Linked DNA regions of Homo sapiens: all the other regions are linked to region 2. Evidence: promoter capture Hi-C in human tissues and cell types (Jung and others, 2019). All regions are on one chromosome and are shown on one strand. The core of a region is centred on a gene start or on the middle of the fragment in contact, and the rest is flanking DNA. Distances in the headings are between cores, read along the strand shown. Region 1 has its middle 94 kb from the start of LINC01482. Region 2 holds the start of WIPI1 (WD repeat domain, phosphoinositide interacting 1). Region 3 has its middle 120 kb from the start of LINC01482.

Evidence for each region. Contacts are between HindIII fragments. The study calls those that stand out against the background at their distance.
Region 1: a contact is called between a fragment that was not itself captured here and the fragment with the promoter of WIPI1 in region 2, in 2 of the 25 tissues and cell types used here (heart right ventricle and neural progenitor cells).
Region 3: a fragment that was not itself captured here is called in contact with the fragment with the promoter of WIPI1 in region 2 in 1 of the 25 tissues and cell types used here (aorta).

Annotation. Positions count from the first base shown.
Region 1 is chr17:68,721,269-68,723,968 of GRCh38, reverse strand. No RefSeq gene overlaps it. Among named protein-coding and RNA genes, the nearest start is that of LINC01482, 94 kb to the right of the region's middle. The HindIII fragment of the contact is 4,290 bases long and covers 1-2,700 here.
Region 2 is chr17:68,456,080-68,458,779 of GRCh38, reverse strand. WIPI1 (WD repeat domain, phosphoinositide interacting 1) reads left to right here and starts at 1,284. Exons shown (of 13, transcript NM_017983.7): 1 at 1,284-1,438. The coding sequence starts at 1,359. It also overlaps a transcript of PRKAR1A not described here. RefSeq lists silencers at 842-1,128, 865-1,544. The HindIII fragment of the contact is 15,120 bases long and covers 1-2,700 here.
Region 3 is chr17:68,743,887-68,746,586 of GRCh38, reverse strand. No RefSeq gene overlaps it. Among named protein-coding and RNA genes, the nearest start is that of LINC01482, 120 kb to the right of the region's middle. The HindIII fragment of the contact is 6,081 bases long and covers 1-2,700 here.

The DNA.
Region 1 (2,700 bases), core at 54-2,553, 270 kb before region 2:
AGTATCATGCAAAGTGTTTTTATGAAGATCAGTCTTCACTACCACAGATTCATTACTTTTTGGTCCAAAACAATGGGATAGAGGAAAATATTCTAAATGTCCTGGACTTACTAATGACTTATGTTATTAGTAATGATAGTAGGTAAGTCTTATAATCTCTGGACGTTAATTTCTCCCACTTCAAGAATGGAGAACTAAAGTGTCCCATGCAGGATTGAGGAGATCAAATAAGAAAATGCGTATGAATCTCTTTTGTAAAGAATAAGATATACCAATGTTAATGACAGTGTTGCTGTTACTATTTTTACCCTCACTGTGATCACAGGGCATTGGCCACCAGATTCAAGAGTGTCATTAAAATCCACATTTAAGGATAAGCAAGATCCCACTCTTTTCATCAAAATGTAATAGTGTGGCATTTGACTATTTAGCTTTGATTCTCAGAAGTATAATTCATTGAAACTGAACTGGGCTGAAAGATTATTGGATAATCTATCGGCTACCCATGTTTTTATTTATGAGTATTTTCTCTGTGTCAAAGCAACTAACCTTTTCTTAATTCTTCTTTAAGGAATAAAAGTAAGTTTTAACCCATTTCTATGTTCATTTTTCCTTCTGACATCCTGTGAGGCTGGCAGTTTTTCATTTGTGTAGGATGGGCTCAGATCAGCCTGATTCAAAAAGAGTAAGAACATTATCCCAGAAGAAATAAGAGTAAAGCTGAAATGGTCTTATCCTTCCATATGATGGAGGCAGCCTACATAATCTGTCTAGTTCTATTTTTTATTTCACTCTAGAGCTAATAAAACACATTCAGTGATAATTCTGTTAGCAAGAGATAGTGCAAATAATGGCAATAAATCTGCAGGACAATTCAAGCTTCTAGAGCTTCTATGGATCATCTAAAAGAATCAAGTTAATATCTGAATGCATTAATATATGTGTGCCTGGCACATAGGATGCTTCACGAACTTGGTAGCTTTTAATATTGAGTGACAGCAGTTGCTTTTTGTTTGCTTTTTTAGACAGGGTCTTGCTCTGTCACCCAGTCTGGAGCACAGTGGCGCAAACACGGCTCACTGCAGCCTCGACCTCCTGGGCTCAAGCAATCCTCCCACCTCAGCCTCCCAAGACACTGGGATCAAACGTGTGTGCCAATTTGCCCTGCTGATTTTTTTTAATAGGCATGGGGTCTCCCTATGTTGCCCAGGCTGGCCTTGAACTCCTGGGCTCAAGTGATCCTCCCACCCTCAGCCTCTTAAAGTGCTGGAATTATAGGCATGAGCCACCACTCCCAGCCAACAGATCTTCATTTATGAGGTGGGACAATGCAGCACAACTAGGCCTGTCTTGTGTTTCTTACTCTAATTTTCATCTCCTTGATCCCATTCGGTAAAGTGGAAGCCCAATAACAGAAAGTACTTCTCAGGTCCCAACTTCACCTCCTGTCAAACTCTGGCATCCTTTAAAGTCCTGATGGCACCATCTAGGGGTCCCCAGGTAGTGTCTCCTGATGAAAGATAAACAAGTCTTGTCTTCTAAAAAGGACTTGCATCTCAGCCTTCCCACAAACAGACCCATCCAAGAAACCCTCCAAGACATCATTAAATGTCAGGGTAAATACAGTATCATTTGCCAAAATAAGACCGGGCTGACTTATCATAGTTTCCCCACAGGAGACAGCACAGCACCTAGAACCAAGATTTTGGAATCTGACAGACCCAGAATCAAATGCAGCCACAGCTATTTACTAAGTGTGACATTAAGTCATTTAACCTTTCTGATCCTTATGTTCCTTGTAAATGGGAGCTATTTGAAACCCACAATATATTTGGTCAATCTGTTGCTTCTGTACAAAATTTGTATTTTATCAAATACTTGTATGTAATTTATTAAGTGCTTAGCAAACGTCAACTCATTTAATTCTCCTACCAAGCCTATGGTGTAGGTACCATTTTTATCCACATGTTATAGACGAAGCCAGCAAGACACAAGAAGATAAAATAGGTCACAAGGTCACACAGAGTGTGGCAGAGGCGAAATTCAAACCCAGGTATTCTGGCTACTGAATCCTTATTTTTAACCATCATCCTAGCTAATCTTTAATAGCCAAACAAGGAAGTATTTTTTAAAACTTTTTCAGGGAATTAGTTTTTAAAATAAGAAAGTATTTTTTAAACCATGTTGTCATGGACATTTTCAAACACACAAAAGCAATGAGAATTCCTTGTGCATTGCATTTTCCTCTCATTGCAATAAAAAATATCTTTGTTATTCTTTTTGATCTTGCTCATATCATTGGCTAAATTACAGTACTTACCATAATTTACCTTTTGTCTCCTCACACAATCATAAAAGTAATCATGGTGAGTTCTTATATTTGTGCAGTACTTTCTTTCTTTCTTTTTTTTTTTTTCTTGAGATAGATTCTTGTCCTGTCACCCAGGCTAGAGTGCAATGGCGCGATCTCGGCTCAATGCAACCTCCACCTCCTGGGTTCAAGCAATTCTCCTGCCTCAGCCTCCCAAGTAGCTGGAATTAAAGATGCATGCCACCACTCCTGGCTAATACATATATATATATACATTTTGTATCTTTAGAGACAGGGTTTCATCATATTAGCCAGGCTGGTCTTGAACTCCTGACCTTGTGATCCACCCACCTCAGCCTCCCAAAGTGCTGGGATTAAAGGCGTGAGCC
Region 2 (2,700 bases), core at 35-2,534:
AATTAAAAATCCATCAGCAGTTATACAATCCAAAGCTGGCAGAGCTCCTGCTTCATAAACCGTATTGACAGTAATTCCGCATGGGAACATGTACAGTACTCAGCTTTTAAAAAGAGATTCTTTGTTAAGGTTTATCTCGAATTACGTGAGTTTTGAATTGTGCTATATCTTCAAGACGTTACCCCTTTCATAAACTACACTGCCCTACACACACTTTCATTTTTTTCAGCTGCGGATCGGATAGGTCTTGTTTAGATACTTTGTGCCATTTTTGTAACTTTTCAGATCAAAGGTGCTTCCCCCCACCTTCCAGCTCCGTCAAATGCTGCAGTCATTTCTGTCCTGGTTAGAAAACCTAGAATCTCGCATGCTAGGTGCTACGTTGTTTTTGCAAATTACTGTTTAGCAGTTATTTAGTGCACAGGTCTTGAAAGCAGACATGCAGACATTCTACCATTTACTGTTACTTTAGACAAATTGTTTAGCTTTGGAGCTTCAGTTGCCTCTTCTGTATATTGAGCACAATCGTATTTTCCACACAAGTTTTATAAGAATTCAAGATGACATACATAGTACGGCGCGCTTGGCAAGTAGTGAGGGTTCTCAACCGCTCGGCAATGGATAAGATAACTTGCTATCTCTCTGGCTGAGGCAGCCCCATTTCAGGAGCTTCTCTCAATGCGGCTTGAGGACTCGACAAAAGGGTGGGGCTTTGGAGTCTAACGCTCTCTGCTAAACTCTGTAAGTTTAATAGGCAGAGTTACACATGGCAAGGGGTCTGGGCGGGGTGGGAACTAGCGCGTCCTCCTGTCACCCTTGCGGCGGCCCCGACGCAGTTGCCGGACTGAAACCAGCAGATCTGGCCCCAGCCGCATTCCTTCTTCCCTCTCCCTCCCAGCTGGGCGGCTCCGGCAATGAAAACACCGCCACGTGGGCCTGCTGCCTTTGCGTCACGCGCCTTTGTCCAATGGAGAGCCGCGTTACGAAGCCAGGGGCGGGTCGCCAGCCGGGCGGGTCCGCCCACAGCTGCCACGGATTGGCCAAGGGGGGCGGTGCCCGCCAGCCGTGGCTTGGGCTCGTGGCCAATGGTGGCCGGAGGCAGGGGCCCCGCCCTATCAGGTGCTCTGGTCCTCGGGACCAGCTGGAGGGGCGAGAAGGGGCGGGGCGAAGCCGGGGACGCGGCGGGGACGGGGCGGGGTAGGGGCGGGGTGGGGACGGGGCGGGGTAGGGGCGGGGTGGGGACGGGGCGGGGTAGGGGCGGGGCAGGACCGGCGACCCGGCCCGTGGAGCCGGCGCGGGCGGGCTGCTGAGGTGGCTGTCGCCGGCTCCGAGCTGCGGCTTCCCGGGCCGAGCCCCCGATGGAGGCCGAGGCCGCGGACGCTCCCCCGGGCGGGGTTGAGTCGGCGCTCAGCTGCTTCTCTTTCAACCAGGACTGCACGTAAGCTGCGACTCGGCCCCTGCCAGGGAGGTGGGGGACAGAGTGTCAGGACCCAGGGGTGTCGTCCTGAGAGCAGCTTGTGGCTTCCGCCTCGAGGCGGCCTCGGCGGGAGGGCCGGTGTCTGCTTCGGACGCATTGGGATCTTGTTATCCCCGTACCCCTTCAGTGGGGTTTGCCGCACCCCCCACCCCACCCCACTCCCAGTGTCCTCCCAGAGCGACAAGGTTGGGCCAAGGGTGAAAGCAGGGAGTTCGCAAAGGGAGTGGTGGGGCTGCGGGGGCCACGGAATATGGGGGGAGCAGGGCGGTGGGAAAGCCAGTGACCAAAGTGGGTGTCTGGGGAAGAGAGACAGTGGCCAAAAGAAAGAGATGAGAAAGGAGAGGAAGTTGCAAGTTGACCCAGGACTCTGTAGTTGGGGCCCAGGAAGATGAGAGTACAGGAAAAACTTTCCCATTTGTCCTTGAGCATCTCAACGTGGCATCTGGGCAGGGCCTCGGACAAAGAGGCAGCCTATCCCTGCGGCCAGGCCAGCCCCTGTCCCATCCCCGACGCAGGGCATCGTGCCTGCCCGCTCTGGATGGAAGAAACCTTTGGATTTCTTTGGCTGTTTTCACATCGCCCACCCAGCCAGGCAGGATCTCCTTCTCGGAGTCCAAGACTCTTTTCCCGGGCGCAGACTGCTTTCTCTCCAGGAAACAGGAGCTCCACCCTGTTGTTTTTGAGTGGATTTTTAATGTTTTACTTCGATGTTCACATTTGGGCTTTGAGAGGGAGCTGGGCTGAAGTGTGTTTCAGGCATCTGCAGGATTCTGTGACTTACAGGCAAACGCCTGTTTCTTTCCCTATTTTCATGGAAGCGAGCCCTGGGGACCATATGGAATCATCTTTTTGGAATGTGCACCCTGAGCATCAGGCGGGGATGACCGATTCCCAGTTTCCCACTTCCTGCTGTACCAGTTTCTGTGCCTTGGCTGCTGGTGACTGAGCTACGCTAATATTGATCCTTCAGTGGTGTAATTAAGGCCATTATGTACCATTAGCCACCCTGGCTTCCATTCCCTTTATGTTTCTGTTTAAAAACACCCGGTGCTGAACAATATGCCTTTGTTTGAAAAACCCATATGTGTAATCATGTAATCGAGTAGCTCTACAGCTTGGTTATTTGAGTGACTTTCAAGTTTTTCTTGACCACAATCCACAATACGAAATATGTATTGCAACATCACCCAATACCCATAACACATACACTATTCACAAAATAT
Region 3 (2,700 bases), core at 194-2,693, 290 kb before region 2:
CCCACCCACCTCGGCCTCCCAAAGTGCTGGGATTATATGAGTGAGCCACCATGCCCTGCCTTTGTTTGCATTTTTAAAATAAACCCTTTTTACATGATATTCTAATTATTTATTTACACGTCTGTTTTTCTAGCTACACTGAGTGTTTCTTGAGGGCGAGGATTATATTTTACGTTTGTTTCTCCCAGAACCTAGTTCATAGTCAGTACCAATAAATGTTTATTAAATGATATAGACAAAGGTAAGATTAAAATGTATTATTGATTTATGTCTTTCTTTGGCTGCTGGACACAAGCAATCGCCATCCGTCTTAAATAGATAACATCAGCATAAGGCTCTTTTCCGTTTCTATACATATATCTTAGCCATCAAATTAAATGGGTTGTCATTGGAATGAATCACAGCCAACACACTACTATATATTTAACATTCAGGATGTTGTGGGTACACAAGCCTCTTAGAAGTGAGTTAGGATCTTCAAATAAAATAACTTAAATCCAAGAGCCACAAACACAGGGGATTTAGATGGGTTTCCTGATCTGCATAAGAATGACTGACATAGGATTCTTTAACATTAACACAATCCAGAAACTCATGGAAATGTTGACTTTTATTCTTTCTTTTATGATGAAAGGTTTCGGGCATCCTCTCCTACAAGTGTCTGCAGACCATGATGCTGAAGGATCATATCGCCCACACCTGAATGACCCTCCAGAGGAGCAAGGCAACTTCTCCCTTGTGCTTGTCCAGCAGCCTGTTCCCTCCTTCTGATCTCCTGTGCTGATTCAGCCAATCTGCTCAAATTGATGCAAGAATCAACCTGCATCAAGGCGCCACTGTGTGAGTCTTGTATGATAGTTACCACCAAGTTAGACACCACTGAAACGGGAGAAGTTTCTTTATCCCCCTTGCAGGGCATGAAACAGGAGTGTGGCTCACTTCTTCAGTGCCCTGCTGCTCAAACCCCTAGGGGAAGCATGAAGATGGGCAGGTCGTGGGGTGTGTTTTGGGGCTCCAACCCCACAGCAGCATCTAGGGTTGAGTGTTTACAGCTCCCAAAGCCCCAGTGGACATGTGTTACATTGTGCTCCTTCAGCTTTGCCACCTGCAGGTGGCTTGTGTTAATCAGCTCAATTAGACCTTCTGCCTTATTGCAAGGACAGAGGGCTTTCTGTATCCTGGGTTCTTGCCTTAGTGTACAGGAAAAATTGGATCACTCGTGGGCTTGGAGAATAAGTGCAAGGTTTTACTGAGTGGTGAAAGCAGCTCTCAGTAAGGTGGATGGGGAGCTAGAAAGGGGAATGGAGTGGGAAGGTGGTCTTCCCCTGGACTTCGTCCACCCAGCAGCCAGACTCACCTCTGACCGTCCCTGGCCAAATACCCCTTGGCATCCACGTTGTTCCACCATCGATGGCTTGCTGGTGTCTACTGGTGTCTGTCAGTGTGTTCTGGACATTGTGCACCTCCCAATGTCCAGCCACTTGTGTCAATGCCTGCTATGGTCTCGGATTTTTATGGGCACAGGATGGGGGGCATGGTGGGCCAGAGTGGTCTTGAAAAATGCAATATTTGGGTTCAAAAACAAGAGTGCCTGTTCTCACTTAGGTCCATGGGCTTAGGCCCGAGGGTAGAACCCTCACCAAGGACCCCACCCTTCTCTACCCAGCACTTCCCTGCCCCCTTCCTGTATCATTATGATTAAAAACTCTTAGGGTCTAAAGCCAGGCTGATGAACCAAGCAGAGGATATGACAAAAGTAGATTTGGCCTCTAGTCTGCTCCTCAGTTATGCTGGCCATGTCTGATCTAAACGGTGAAAGTAGGGATGTATGAGATGAAAGAAAAGGGAATACAACCTTCGTATGAGTTCAAAAATGACCAAATGAAGGTGATCTGGAGTAGATATCTGCTCTTCAAAACACTTAGCCATTTGTGATAACTTGTGGTTATCTTCTTGCTTTCACTTCATCTGCAGACCTCAAACAATAGCCCCTGGAATCATATGTGACTCAAACACTTCTTCAGTTGTGATTCCTAAATAGAAAACATTATTCTCTGGCAGAAACAAATGCTACGGAGCTGCGAAAAAGGAAATCCAAGTACAGCCAATGTCTCAAAGAGTGTTTTAAAAATGAAGGAAAAAGAAGCTTTCAAATACACTATTACTTCTCAACAGCACAATTGCTCCTTCAATGTTGAAAACACTCTCTCTGGTATCAGGAAATAAATTACCTTCATGCTAAGTCAAAGGACAGGCTGGAGAACTGGGTAGGAATTTATCCCATTTTCCCCACCTCCACCCCTCACCACTTTTCCAGGAGAAATTCTAAAGTTACACCCCTTCTCAGCCAGGGATCCTGCAGGGAATTAAGCCCTCAGATCCTAGGACATGCATTGTATTAACTTATCTTGTTTGCATCGAAAATGCTCCTAACTCTGTACTATCTATGGGAGAATTGAGAAAATAGTCATTCAAAGCATTTTCTGTAGGACTTAATTCTCTCAAGGAACACCGGTTGAATAAGTCTGTAGGTAAGAGACTAGATTTTGTTTATTAGCAAGCAGAGCTGAACATCTAAGTGAATATTGTCTCTTATAAAGTAAATATCTTCCTCTGATTCTCATATCTCAAAACAGCTTTGGGACTACTTTTTGGGAATGAACTCCATGGCCCATAGCAACATTCCTTTGACTCTTCAGC